Regions from separate parts of the Homo sapiens genome. Here all the other regions are linked to region 3. The links are contacts of gene promoters, found by promoter capture Hi-C in blood cells and fetal thymus (Javierre and others, 2016). All regions are on one chromosome and are shown on one strand. Each heading gives the region's core, a stretch centred on a gene start or on the middle of the fragment in contact. The rest is flanking DNA. Distances are from core to core; before and after follow the strand shown. Region 1 has its middle 200 kb from the start of RAI14-DT. Region 2 overlaps TARS1-DT (TARS1 divergent transcript). Region 3 holds the start of RXFP3 (relaxin family peptide receptor 3).

Region 1 (3,926 bases), core at 54-2,553, 520 kb before region 3:
AAGTGATTAAAATAAAATAATTAGGTAAATGTAATAGAATAAATACTTGTAGATGAGCTCTTCATAATTTAGAATCTAAAGTTATAGTAAATTAAATAATAAATATTTCATTATTTGGGTATTTTCCAATAAAAATATATTGTAGGAAAACCTTTTTTCTAAAAAAGTGTCCTTTTTAAAAACGTGAACAATTTTGTCTAATTTAAAGCTTATTTAAAGGTTATATATAAAACAAGGTAAAAAGAACCAGGAAATAAGAGAGATGTAAAGCAAGTTATAGAAATAAAGAGACATTTTTGAGTAAGAAAGCTTAAAGAGAAATAATTTTATATGAGAAAGAATCTTGTATGGTAAATTTAGTCCTAGAATAAAATGTCTGGTTTTTTAAGAAAGAGAAATGTTCAGGACGAACCAGAAAGTCCAAACATGTCATGAATGGTCTGCGTAAGTCACAATAAGAGGATTTACTAAAACAGACTTTTATGTGATCAAGTTGTCTATTATTAAAGAGAAATTATAATGGTCCTTCTGGAGACTGGGTTTAATATAAAAAAACGCTTATACACTAAAGAATTGGTTAGAGCAATGAAATCTTCTTAAGGGACTGATTTACTCTTAATAAATTATAATAGATTTTAATTTTTTTAACCCAAAGTTCAATTTTTATTGCATCTCACTCTTTTCAGTTTTCTCTCCCCTCTTTAAAAGGCATGAAATAATAACACTTTCCTTCAACTCATTTTCAGCTCATATAAGATTTTTTCCCCCCTAAAGCTCTGTTCATTGTGGCCTGATGCTAATAACGTTTTCTTAAAGGCTAAAGGAAATGTTTTCTTCCAACATAATATTCTGTGCACTGCAGAAGGTCTTTTCTTTTGCCTTTTGCTAACTGGCCCAACAGATTTTACATTTTATTGAAATAATTCTAATGTCATTATTATTAAGTTTTGGTTTGCTTAGAAAAAAGATATTAAAATTTTTTTTAAATTGAGGTTGTTACATCTGTGTATCTTTCTGTATGTGCTTTTAAAGTCCTTGTGACATTGAGTTACAGGGCTTTGACTCTGGGTCTAAAAACAACACCAAGTCCTGTTAAATCTTAAACACTGACAGCAATTAAAGCCTTACTATCAGGCCTGGTAGAAGATGCCAATAAAATAAACTGCATTTCTGAGACACAGGGCCGGAAATTAAAGCTATTCAACTCCTCAAGGCCCAGAGACTATCATGGAAGAGGTGGTCATGTGAGATTTAAAGAACCAATTTTGAGAAATAAAATAAGTTCAGTTTTTCTGTGAATTAACCATTAATGTCAAAGATACAGCAATACAAGACCAGCATATGGGCCCCTGTGTCAGATTAACAAAGTTTTCTTGAAACATTAATGGACTCCTCAATAAAGGTTAAAAGTTTTATGGAAGTTATATCTTATAGTCAAGGTTAAAATTTTATAGATTGTTTATAAAATTTTGGAAAACAAATTTAATTGGCTTTGTGCTGTTTTTATTAGGGCTTATTTTTAGGAAAATTAAGTCTCCTCTCTCAAAGAATGAAGGTTTCACCTTTTTTGAAATCATTGAGTTATCACTTTGTGACTGTGATCCTCTTTTGTGATATCAAGTGTTTTAAACCTTTTATATTTGACAACCTTTCCAAAATCAAATTATAAATTATGTATTTTTCTGACCTAATTAGTCATTTAAGATATTAGATTCCTAAAGTCCAAAAGTGACACATTTGGCTTATTTCGTATAAAAATTATACAGGAAGCATTGTCAAATAAGAAATAGTATTTGGTTTTCTTTGGGCTGTATTTGTATACATATGTTATTTGTATGTGTTCCAAAATTATGGAAAACTCCTATAATTCTGATATGACTTAGTGTACATTATCAGTAATAATTATAATTGTTACATTAAATTATTGTGTACTACATAGGTAACAAATTTTCTTGTCAATTGTGTCTGTGACTATGGCTGCCCTAAAACTTTTTGTCATCCATGGGCAATTACTGTCTTGTTTTGGTCCTCTTTAGAAGGTGGTTTTATAATCAGCTATAAAACTCTAACAGTTACTCTTGAATGCAAGATTCTGATAACTTTGGAGATTGTGACTTCAGAATAAAGGAAAAACTTTCAGGACTCATGGAGAGTTGAAATGTTCATTAATATCAAGCAGAACAGAAGATAACAAAGTTATCTTCATGGACTGAACTAATAGAAGACTAAAGGAATCTTTTTGACTTTTTGCTTAAAATGTTGCTGATCCTTTATTTTTTGGAGTCAAGGAAGCTTTTCTTTTGAGCTATTGACAGCTTTTAACAATTTAATATACTCCTATGGACAAAATTCAGAGCATATTTGTTTCTCTCTACCTGATTTCTCTGGAATTTGGAAACTGTGAGTATTCTTAACTTATGGCAATATAGTTTTTTACATAAGTGCAATAAGAATCTGTTTTGAGTTGTAGCAGGATACAATTGGAGAAACTGGTTATTTTACCAAAGCTTTGGCTGGAATGGTATGCTTTCCTTTAAGGAATTGAAATTGACTTAGCCAATAAAAGCCACTTGGGAAAACTGGCCTCATACCTTGTCTACACAGTCTCTGTACAGGGTCAAAATGTCACAGAATGTACAGAATGTCACTTCCTGACAAGTCCAGAGCCCCCAGTTATCTTGGGACCTCAAGAGTAGAAGAATTCATCCAACTTATACGTATTCGATTGTACAAATTCACAGCTGGGCTCGGCTTAAAAAAGTCTTATCTGAGATTCCTTCTGTAGAACAATGTTCCATCAAAGCCAATTTTAAAAGCCTATGTGAAAAATAATTACTCTTGCTGCACTTTATAAAAATAATCTGGCCAAGTATAATAAAGCAAATTGGTCCTACCATGATTTGTCTTTAGTAAAAATGGGAAACTGGAGAGAGAAAAATTATGTTTCAAAAAGCTATATAGTACACCAGTTGTTAGAGTCCAGTCTTGCCTAATGTTTTTCAGTTTTTACTATTTTCTACAATTTGGACTGAATTTTAATATTTCCTGGCTAAAATGTTTCCAAAATACTGTTTTCAATTTTTCTTTCTTCCTTTTTTTCTTCCATTTTTCCTAATTTGAAATCACTGAAAACTAAGTTGTGCTTTCTTAAAGCCCTGTGAACTGAATCTAGACAACTTAAACTTCAGAAGAAAATAACAGTAACCTATTTACATATGTAAGCCATTTTCAAACTACCTACTGATGTGTGGACTTCAGAGTAATGTGGCCTGTATTAATTTTCCAGGATTGTTCTTTTGTTTGCTGTTCTTTTTCTCCCTTCTTCCCCCTATTTTTTTCTTTGCCTTTTCTTTCTTTCTTTCTTTTTTTGAGATGGAGTTTTCACTCTTGCTGCCCAGGCTGGAATGTGGTGGCATGATCTTGGCTCACTGCAACCTCCACCTCCTGGGTTCAAGCAATTCTCCTGCCTCAGCCTCCCAAGTAGCTGGGATTACAGATGCCATGCACTGCTCCTGGCTAATTTTTGTATTTCTAGTAGAGACGAGGTTTCACCATATTGGCCAGGCTGGTCTTGAACTCCTGACCTCAGGTGATCCACGTACCTCAGCCTCCCAAAGTGCTGGGCTTACAGGTGTAAGCCACTGCAGCCAGCCATCTAGCCTCCCCCTATTTTTTCTTCACAGAACATGAAACTTCTCAACCTACTAAAAATGAGCTTTCCTAATAACTCATGACCTACCAGTCTAGGAAGAAACCATCCTAGCTGTGAGAGATCAGATGAAACCTCAGACCAGAGACTCATTTTCTTCTAAAATGCTTTCTCCAAAAGAGTATATTTATTTATTTATTTTTAATTGTATTTTTTTATGTTCCAGGGTACACGTGCAAGATGTGCAGGTTTGACACATAGGTAAACATGTGCCATG
Region 2 (3,525 bases), core at 576-3,075, 520 kb after region 3:
GCATGGTGGTGGGCGCCTGTAGTCCCAGCTACTTGGGAGGCTGAGGCAGGAGAATGGTGCGAACCCGGTAGGCGGAGCTTGCAGTGAGCCAAGATTTCGCCACTGCACTCCAGCCTGGGCGACAGAGCAAGACTCCTTCTCGAAAAAAAAAAAAAAAAAAGAATATTTTGGGGTAGGGTTCTTGGGAAGAACCAAACTATGCACAACTTCTAATCACTTTCACAACCCTAAATGAGAATGTTTCATTTTAGTAAGTTCAATCTGAATTGAATGCCAGTCAGTTGGAAAAATAGCAGATGTGTTATGGGACCTCTAAGCTAAATGTGCTTCCTGAAAAAATGCTCTCATTCAAGGTTCTATAAATGTAGTAAGGAATACGCAGTGGGAAGAGCAGAAGAGAAGCCCTGTCTTCACTTTGTTGGATCATTCTTATTAAGTTGCTATACTTCTCTGAAAGTCAGTTTGTGAAAGTTTCTCTCTACATAAAATAAGAAAAGGAAGTTATCATAATGATAGTTTTAAAAAATTGTTTAATGCAAGGACTGGCAAACATTTTCTTGAAAGGGGCAGATAGGAAATATTTTTGGCTTTGCAGGCTGCGTGGTCTCTGTCACAACTACTCAACTCTGCCGATGTAGAGTGAAAGCTGCCATAGACAATACGTGAATGAATGGATGTGGCTGTGTTCCAATAAAACTTTATATACAAAAAGAACTGATGGCTCACAAACCAAAGTTTGGTGATTTTGGTTGGAATGTTTGCATTCTTATTATTTGACAGGTACCACTTCACTGCTTTACATACATGAATATGCCTAAAGAGGTGGAAACTATTATTGTCATCAGTTTATGAATGAGGAAGCCAAAGCTCAGAGAAATTGATCTACTTGCCCAAGGACACATAGCTAGTAAATGGCAGAGCTGAGTTTGAGCATGAAGTCTACCTCCGTCAGTCTCTTACATTTTTCTTTTTTTCTCTTTTTTTAGACAGACTTGCCTTCCCACCTAAAAGCTAAAAGCTTCCGTAAGGGATTTGCAACGACCCAGGAGTATTAGCTGAGTGTGGTGGTGCATGCCTGTAGTCCCAGCTACTCAGGAAACTGAGGCAGGAGAATCGCTAGAAGTCGGGAGGCGGAGGTTGCGGTGAGCCGAGATCGCGCCACTGCACTCCAGCCTGGGCAACAAGAGCGAAACTCTGTCTCAAAAATAAATAAATAAGTAAAAATAAAAATAAAAAAAGACCCAGGAGTAAACACTAGGAAATTTGATATAAACCTTAATAACTCCAACTGGTGAGTGATATAGAAGAGCATTCAGAGTAGTTTGTCACAGAACATACTTTCCAGATGAATCTTGGAATTTAGCTTGGTAATACGGATAATTTGCTTTTTCTGATGTTTGACTATACTTGTTCCACCCATATTTTAGCTTAAAGGGGGATTCCTCTTCTCTCCAAATATATTTACTAGCTTTCCCACCTTTTCCCCCTCCCTTAAAAGCAAGAATAGTACTATTAAGATGCACTACTTACTTGAACTTCTCTTTTTTAAGTGAAAAAACTCAAAGCATATTTTTTTCTTTTACCCTTTCAAGAGGTAAAATTAAAAAGCAGTGTTTCATAAATGGAAACAATGAGAAAACCTTGGCAAGCACCATTGAGATGATGAATTGTAATTCAACATGAAAGTCATTCCCATCCTCTTGTGTGATTTGACAGTTACTTAAGGGCTTCCATCTTTGGTTGTATGGCCTTTGTGATAATAAAAGTGTATGCATTTTTACAATAAGACTGTTGGATTGTTACTCAGACAGAACAGTTCATTTGATGAGACTTAGCAGTATACTGAGATTCCAAGTTGGTTTATCTCCATCAGGGAGAGGAGAGCTCCCCCGATACCTCGTGTTTTCTATCCGGCTCCCAGGGCAAGCTAAGACTGAATGAAAAAATAGTGGAGTATTGACTGACAAACATTTTCTGGGAAGGGGCAGATAGCAAATATTTTTTATTTTGAATGCTACATGGTCTCCATCACAAATACTCAACTCTGCTGACATAGCATGGAAGCTGCCATAGACAATATGTAAATGGTGGATGTGGCTGTACTCCAGTAAAACTTTACCAAAAACCTGATGGCTCACAATCCAAAGTTTGGCAACTTTGGTTGGAATGTGTGCATTCTTATTATGTGACACATACCATTTAGCAGCTTTATATACATTAGTATGCCTAATGTATATAAAACATAAATGTAAAATGTAAAACTCCCACATTTTCAGTGTAGTAGAACCAAATATCACACTTTTCTATAGGCTGGCTGTGGTTTATGATGTTCTTCTCAACCCTTCTCTTAGATTTTCAAGAAGATCTTAGCATAGGGTCTCTGAAAGGGAACAGGGGCTCCAGAGAAAGTCTTGTAGTGCAGCAAATATTCCCAGTGAACCTGACCTAAGCAGTGTGAACTTTCTCAATTCAAAGGTTACCTCTTAATCAATCAGATCTGGAAGGATGCAAAACAGTCCCCAAGATTTGAGCTTCCAGAACAAAACTATCCACCCATGTATGTGCAGTGCCATGGCTAGAACTCCTGGGCTATCTTTTTGTAGGATGGAGCCATTCTGGCTTCTGAAGCTTGGTGAGCTTGCCCTTGTTTTTGGATTGGAGTCATGAATGTTTTATGGACAATAAACCTCCTTGACAATTCTCTGGAGGTCTTCTTGGATTATTAACTCTGTTGAAGGTCTGATTAAGCCAAATCAGCATTTGCAGTTCCTTTTCTGGGAGGAGCAATGCAGTGATGCAGGTGTATAGTTGCCACTAACATTATCATCATCAAGTGGTAATTAGTGACCCATTGGGGATAGCACTGATGCTAGGCATCAGTGCTATCCAGCTGTCTTTCCAGAGTCTCTCACTTTCAGGAATCTCCACATTCTGGGGTCCCCAAGCTAGTCTCTCATTTTTATTCTCTACCTAAACCTGGCCCCTCCAGGTGTGTTACAGGTCTCTGTATCTTATTCGTTTATCTAACCCAGGTATGCACATGTTGCTTGTGTTGGAATAAAGTCTCATCAGGTTGTTTTAGGAAAATTAACCTTACTTTTTAAATCACAATTAGGTGTGAAAGAGGCAAAACAAGATTATGTTTCTTCTTGTTTTCTTGTTTTTTTTTTTTCTAACTAAGAAATACCAACTGTATGAGACACTAGGTTGAATTATAGTTCTCCAGCACAATCAATTAATATATGTATAATATTAAAGTACATGGTTACAAAAGGGATAACAGTAAACTTTTGAACCCTTGATGTTTCAAGAGGAATTCCTTACAAATGAACTAGAAAGTACATGTTTATGATAACAGGATATTTAGAGACACCAAGGCAAAGATGTGATATTTGAATTCTTGAATTGTCTGGAGAGTTCTCTTAATTATCTACTTATTGATGTAGAATTGATCTTCTAAGAAACTACATAGCTTATTTTTAGAAGTATTCCTAGAGAGAGATAATTATACTCTTGTTTTTCATT
Region 3 (3,557 bases), core at 313-2,812:
GGCTCTTGAGCGCCTTGCGGAACTCGCGGCGCACGAGGCAGTAGAGGACGGGGTTGAGGCAGCTGTTGGAGTGCGCTAGGCACACGCTCACAGGGAACGCGTATACCTGGCACAGGAAATACTCCTGGCTGAAGGGCACCGCGTTGAACTTGATGAGGATGCTCCAGGTGGTGAGCGCCTGGTTGGGCAGCCAACACAGGAAGAAGGACAGGACAACGATGGTCACTGATTTGGTGACCTTCGACAGTCTCCGGGCGCTGGCTCCGGTCGGGCGTCCTCCGGCTACCGCGGCCCCTCCTTTGGTCCCCGCCGCGCGGCGGTCGGCGATGAAGCGCACCAGCAGCAGGTAGCACAAGATAATGATGCCCAGCGGCAGCACGAAGCCCAGCAGCACCTTCTGCGAGTGGTAGAGGCCCAGCCAGAACTGCCTGTCGCGGCCCAGCAACTTGTCCGGGAAACGCACCAGGCACAGCTCCTCGCCCATCACCTTGACCGTGGTGGAGAAAATGGCACTGGGCAGCGAGGCCAGCGCGGCCAAAGCCCAGATCCACACACACAGCGCCTTGGCCGAGAAGCAGCAGCTGTCCCCCAGGCTCCGGCCGCAGCAGTCGCCCCGGCCGTGTCCTCGGGTCCGGTGGCTCTTCAGAGCCGAGGCCACCGAATGGTAGCGCGTCACACTCATGGCAGTGAGGAAGAACACGCTGGCGTACATGTTCATGGACGTCACCATGGACACGATCTTACACATGGCCTTGCCGAAGGGCCATTTGAAGTCAAGAGCGTTCTCCACCGCCCAGAAGGGCAGGGTGAGCACAAACTGAAAGTCCGTCAGCGCCAGGTTGGTGACGAAGAGGTTGATAGAGGACTTGCGCCAGCCCTGCATGCTCTTCATCAGGTAGAGAACCAGCAGGTTGCCCGCCAACCCCAGGGCGCACACCACCCAGTACACCACGCTGATGAGAATCCGCACCCGGGCCTCTGTGTCCGCGCTCTCTGCCCCGCCGCTGCCCGGGGGATGTCCTGGCGGCGCGCCGTCCGGCAACTCCAGCCCCAGCTCCCACCACAAGTCCGGAAGCTGCAGCGACGCGTTACCACTCGTGTTGGCCGCCTCCAGAAGGTCCGGGACCAGACTGAAGAGTTCTGCTAGCTTGTCCCCGCCTGCTGCCTTATTCATGGTGGCTATCGTGGCTGCATCGGCCATCTGCATGCGCAGGTACCTCTAGGTCATGTTCTGGGGGACAAGACCTAAGATAACACGGTTTACCCCAGTTTTGTTGCCAGGCTAGCCTGCGGGACGTGCGTGGGAGCTTTCAAAGCAGCTACTGAAGAGAGAGCCCAGGAACTGGGTACTAAGCGCGTCCTGGCGCGCAGCGAACGCCCTGGACGCAGGAGTTGAGCTCAGCGGCTGCTTTGGAGCAGAGTTGAGGAGTGCAGCCCGTAAGGCAAGCACTCGGCGTCCAAGGGTTCTCAGGCCAAGCTCGGAGTCCCTAGGTCCTTATGTACAACGCAGACTTCCCCTCTCCGTGTCCCGCGGTCACTGGGGCACTGGCGCATAACTCCCCCAGCCGCTCAATTGTGCGATTTGGGGCCGCTCGCTCCCTTTCAAATACCTTTATCCGTTTCCTCTGGGACTGCTTGGATGAGGTTTCCGTCCTTGGAGAGAAAGAGATCGTAGAGTTCCATCCACCACGCTCAGCTTCCTGGAGGTCAGTGGGTGTCTGCGTCTCTCCGCGGTTGTCAACTCCGGGTGGGTTGCCAGCGGCTCTCACCAGTTACGGTGGCACTTGCACGGCCAAGGCGGCGGGCCCCAAGGAGCATGCGTAATCCCGGGGCGCCGCGAGGGGCGCTTTCCGAGGTGCTGAACCCAGCCGCGCCCGCGCCGCGAGGGAGAGTTGAGCTGCAGGCAAAGCCCACCCGCCACTCCAGTTTTCCTCTCCAGAGTTTCAGCAGGAAGGGTCTTAAGAGTTTATTTTACAGCTGCAGGAGAAAGTCGGCTTTGACGTGAGTTTCTTCTTCCTTTCTTATTCCCAAACATTATGATTAGAAGTTTTTTTTTTCTTTCTTCCTCACTCCCACTTTTCACCGGAATTATTCCATTTGGTGAGGAATTGTTCTAAAAATATGAGCTATCCTGCTTACTTTCCTTCTTGAAAGTAATAACAGTGGCCTCTTTTCATGCTCAAATGAGATAATGGGTACTTATTGGATACACAAAGGACAGCTCCACCTCCCCTCTTTAATTAGCTGACCACTTACGCAGTACCTGTGTTTGTCAGGATTTTCAAAGGGTCTTCACATGGCAGAAGTCTGGGCTCAAGGGTTGCCCCTACTTTAATGTATTCTGAGAGGTGACACAAAAACAGAGCAAACAACTGATGGTCCTACTTCACAGAAATTAAATGCCCTAAGCCCAAAGCGCTTCAACAAATTGTTTGATCACATACAGGCCACAGTCTCTTTACCTAGATGCAAATAGAATAGAGGATACCACTGGGCTGATCGTGAACCACCAGCCCTCCTATTTCCATTACTGTTAGCATCAGGACTCTTTTTCAGGCGTTTTTCAGACCAATGGAAGTACATTCTAAGGACTCTTCCAAGGGAATGAGTGGAAACCACTTGAATTACTTCTCAAGCTTCAGTCTACATAAATGCCAGGTCAATCGCTCTGGTGTAAATTACACTTTTAGGATTTACTTTAAAATTTTGAAATGTTTTCCTCTTGGTCTGGGACTAAACTGAAACCAAAGTTTCTTAAGCATAATTGTCCTCACTCCTGGAGTACTACAGAACTCCCAGCTTTACTTAAGGAGATAAAGAGGATGCAACCTTCAAGCTGAGGAGATAAGAAACAGAAAAAGAAAGAAAGAGAAAAACGAAAAAGAAAGAAAGAAAGAAAGAAAGAAAGAAAGAAAGAAAGAAAGAAAAGAAAAGAAAGAGAAAAAGGAAAAAAGAAAAAAAAAGAAACAAGAAACAATCTTGATTCCAAAGGACTTTTAGCCCTGAAGAGCACACACCTTGCTACGGATGCTGCACAGCTCCGTCTTCCCACTAGAGGGAGTAAGGGCTTTAGTAAAAACCTAGCCAAACACAAACATCTCCTTTGATCAGTTCTTACCTGGAGATCACCCCTGCCCTGAGGATTCCTCCCAAAGCACAGGTTATTTCTATGGATGACTATTATCCTGGTTTTAGTAGCCTCACTTTCACACTCAGTTTTGACTTTATTTTTAACTGGTTATTTCTCCATCAATTTTCTCTCTCTCTTCATCTATGTCTCTATTTCTCTTTTCTAATATTTCAAGGGGCTGTTGAAACACAAGAAAAGCTGGGGCATACCCTGAAAGCTCTCTGCTGTTAAATTTTTGGTATGTTCACACCAATGACCTCCATCTAACACATACACAGCTTCTCAGTGCTTCTAGGCACACCCAGGAATATATCTACTTGGTCTGCTCCAAATCACATGTACATATTCATACTTTATGAAAAAATTATAGGGGCCTGATTCAATTCATCTCACATTCATTGGCCACTTACTCTTGCCAGGCACTGAG

What was found. The method cuts DNA at HindIII sites, captures the fragments that hold promoters and counts their contacts. A CHiCAGO score of 5 or more calls a contact.
Region 1: a contact is called between a fragment that was not itself captured here and the fragment with the promoter of RXFP3 in region 3, in 1 of 17 cell types (M2 macrophages). The highest score is 5.5, in M2 macrophages.
Region 2: a fragment that was not itself captured here is called in contact with the fragment with the promoter of RXFP3 in region 3 in 6 of 17 cell types (activated CD4 T cells, total CD8 T cells, naive CD8 T cells and 3 more); the score reaches 7.3 in activated CD4 T cells.

Annotation. Positions count from the first base shown.
Region 1 is chr5:34,456,623-34,460,548 of GRCh38, reverse strand. No RefSeq gene overlaps it. Among named protein-coding and RNA genes, the nearest start is that of RAI14-DT, 200 kb to the left of the region's middle. The HindIII fragment of the contact is 1,983 bases long and covers 312-2,294 here.
Region 2 is chr5:33,416,450-33,419,974 of GRCh38, reverse strand. All of the region lies in intron 2 of TARS1-DT (TARS1 divergent transcript), which reads left to right. Among named protein-coding and RNA genes, the nearest start is that of TARS1-DT, 22 kb to the left of the region's middle. The HindIII fragment of the contact is 1,610 bases long and covers 1,021-2,630 here.
Region 3 is chr5:33,934,391-33,937,947 of GRCh38, reverse strand. RXFP3 (relaxin family peptide receptor 3) reads right to left here and starts at 1,562. Exons shown (of 1, transcript NM_016568.3): 1 at 1-1,562. The coding sequence starts at 1,207. The HindIII fragment of the contact is 5,701 bases long and covers 1-2,638 here.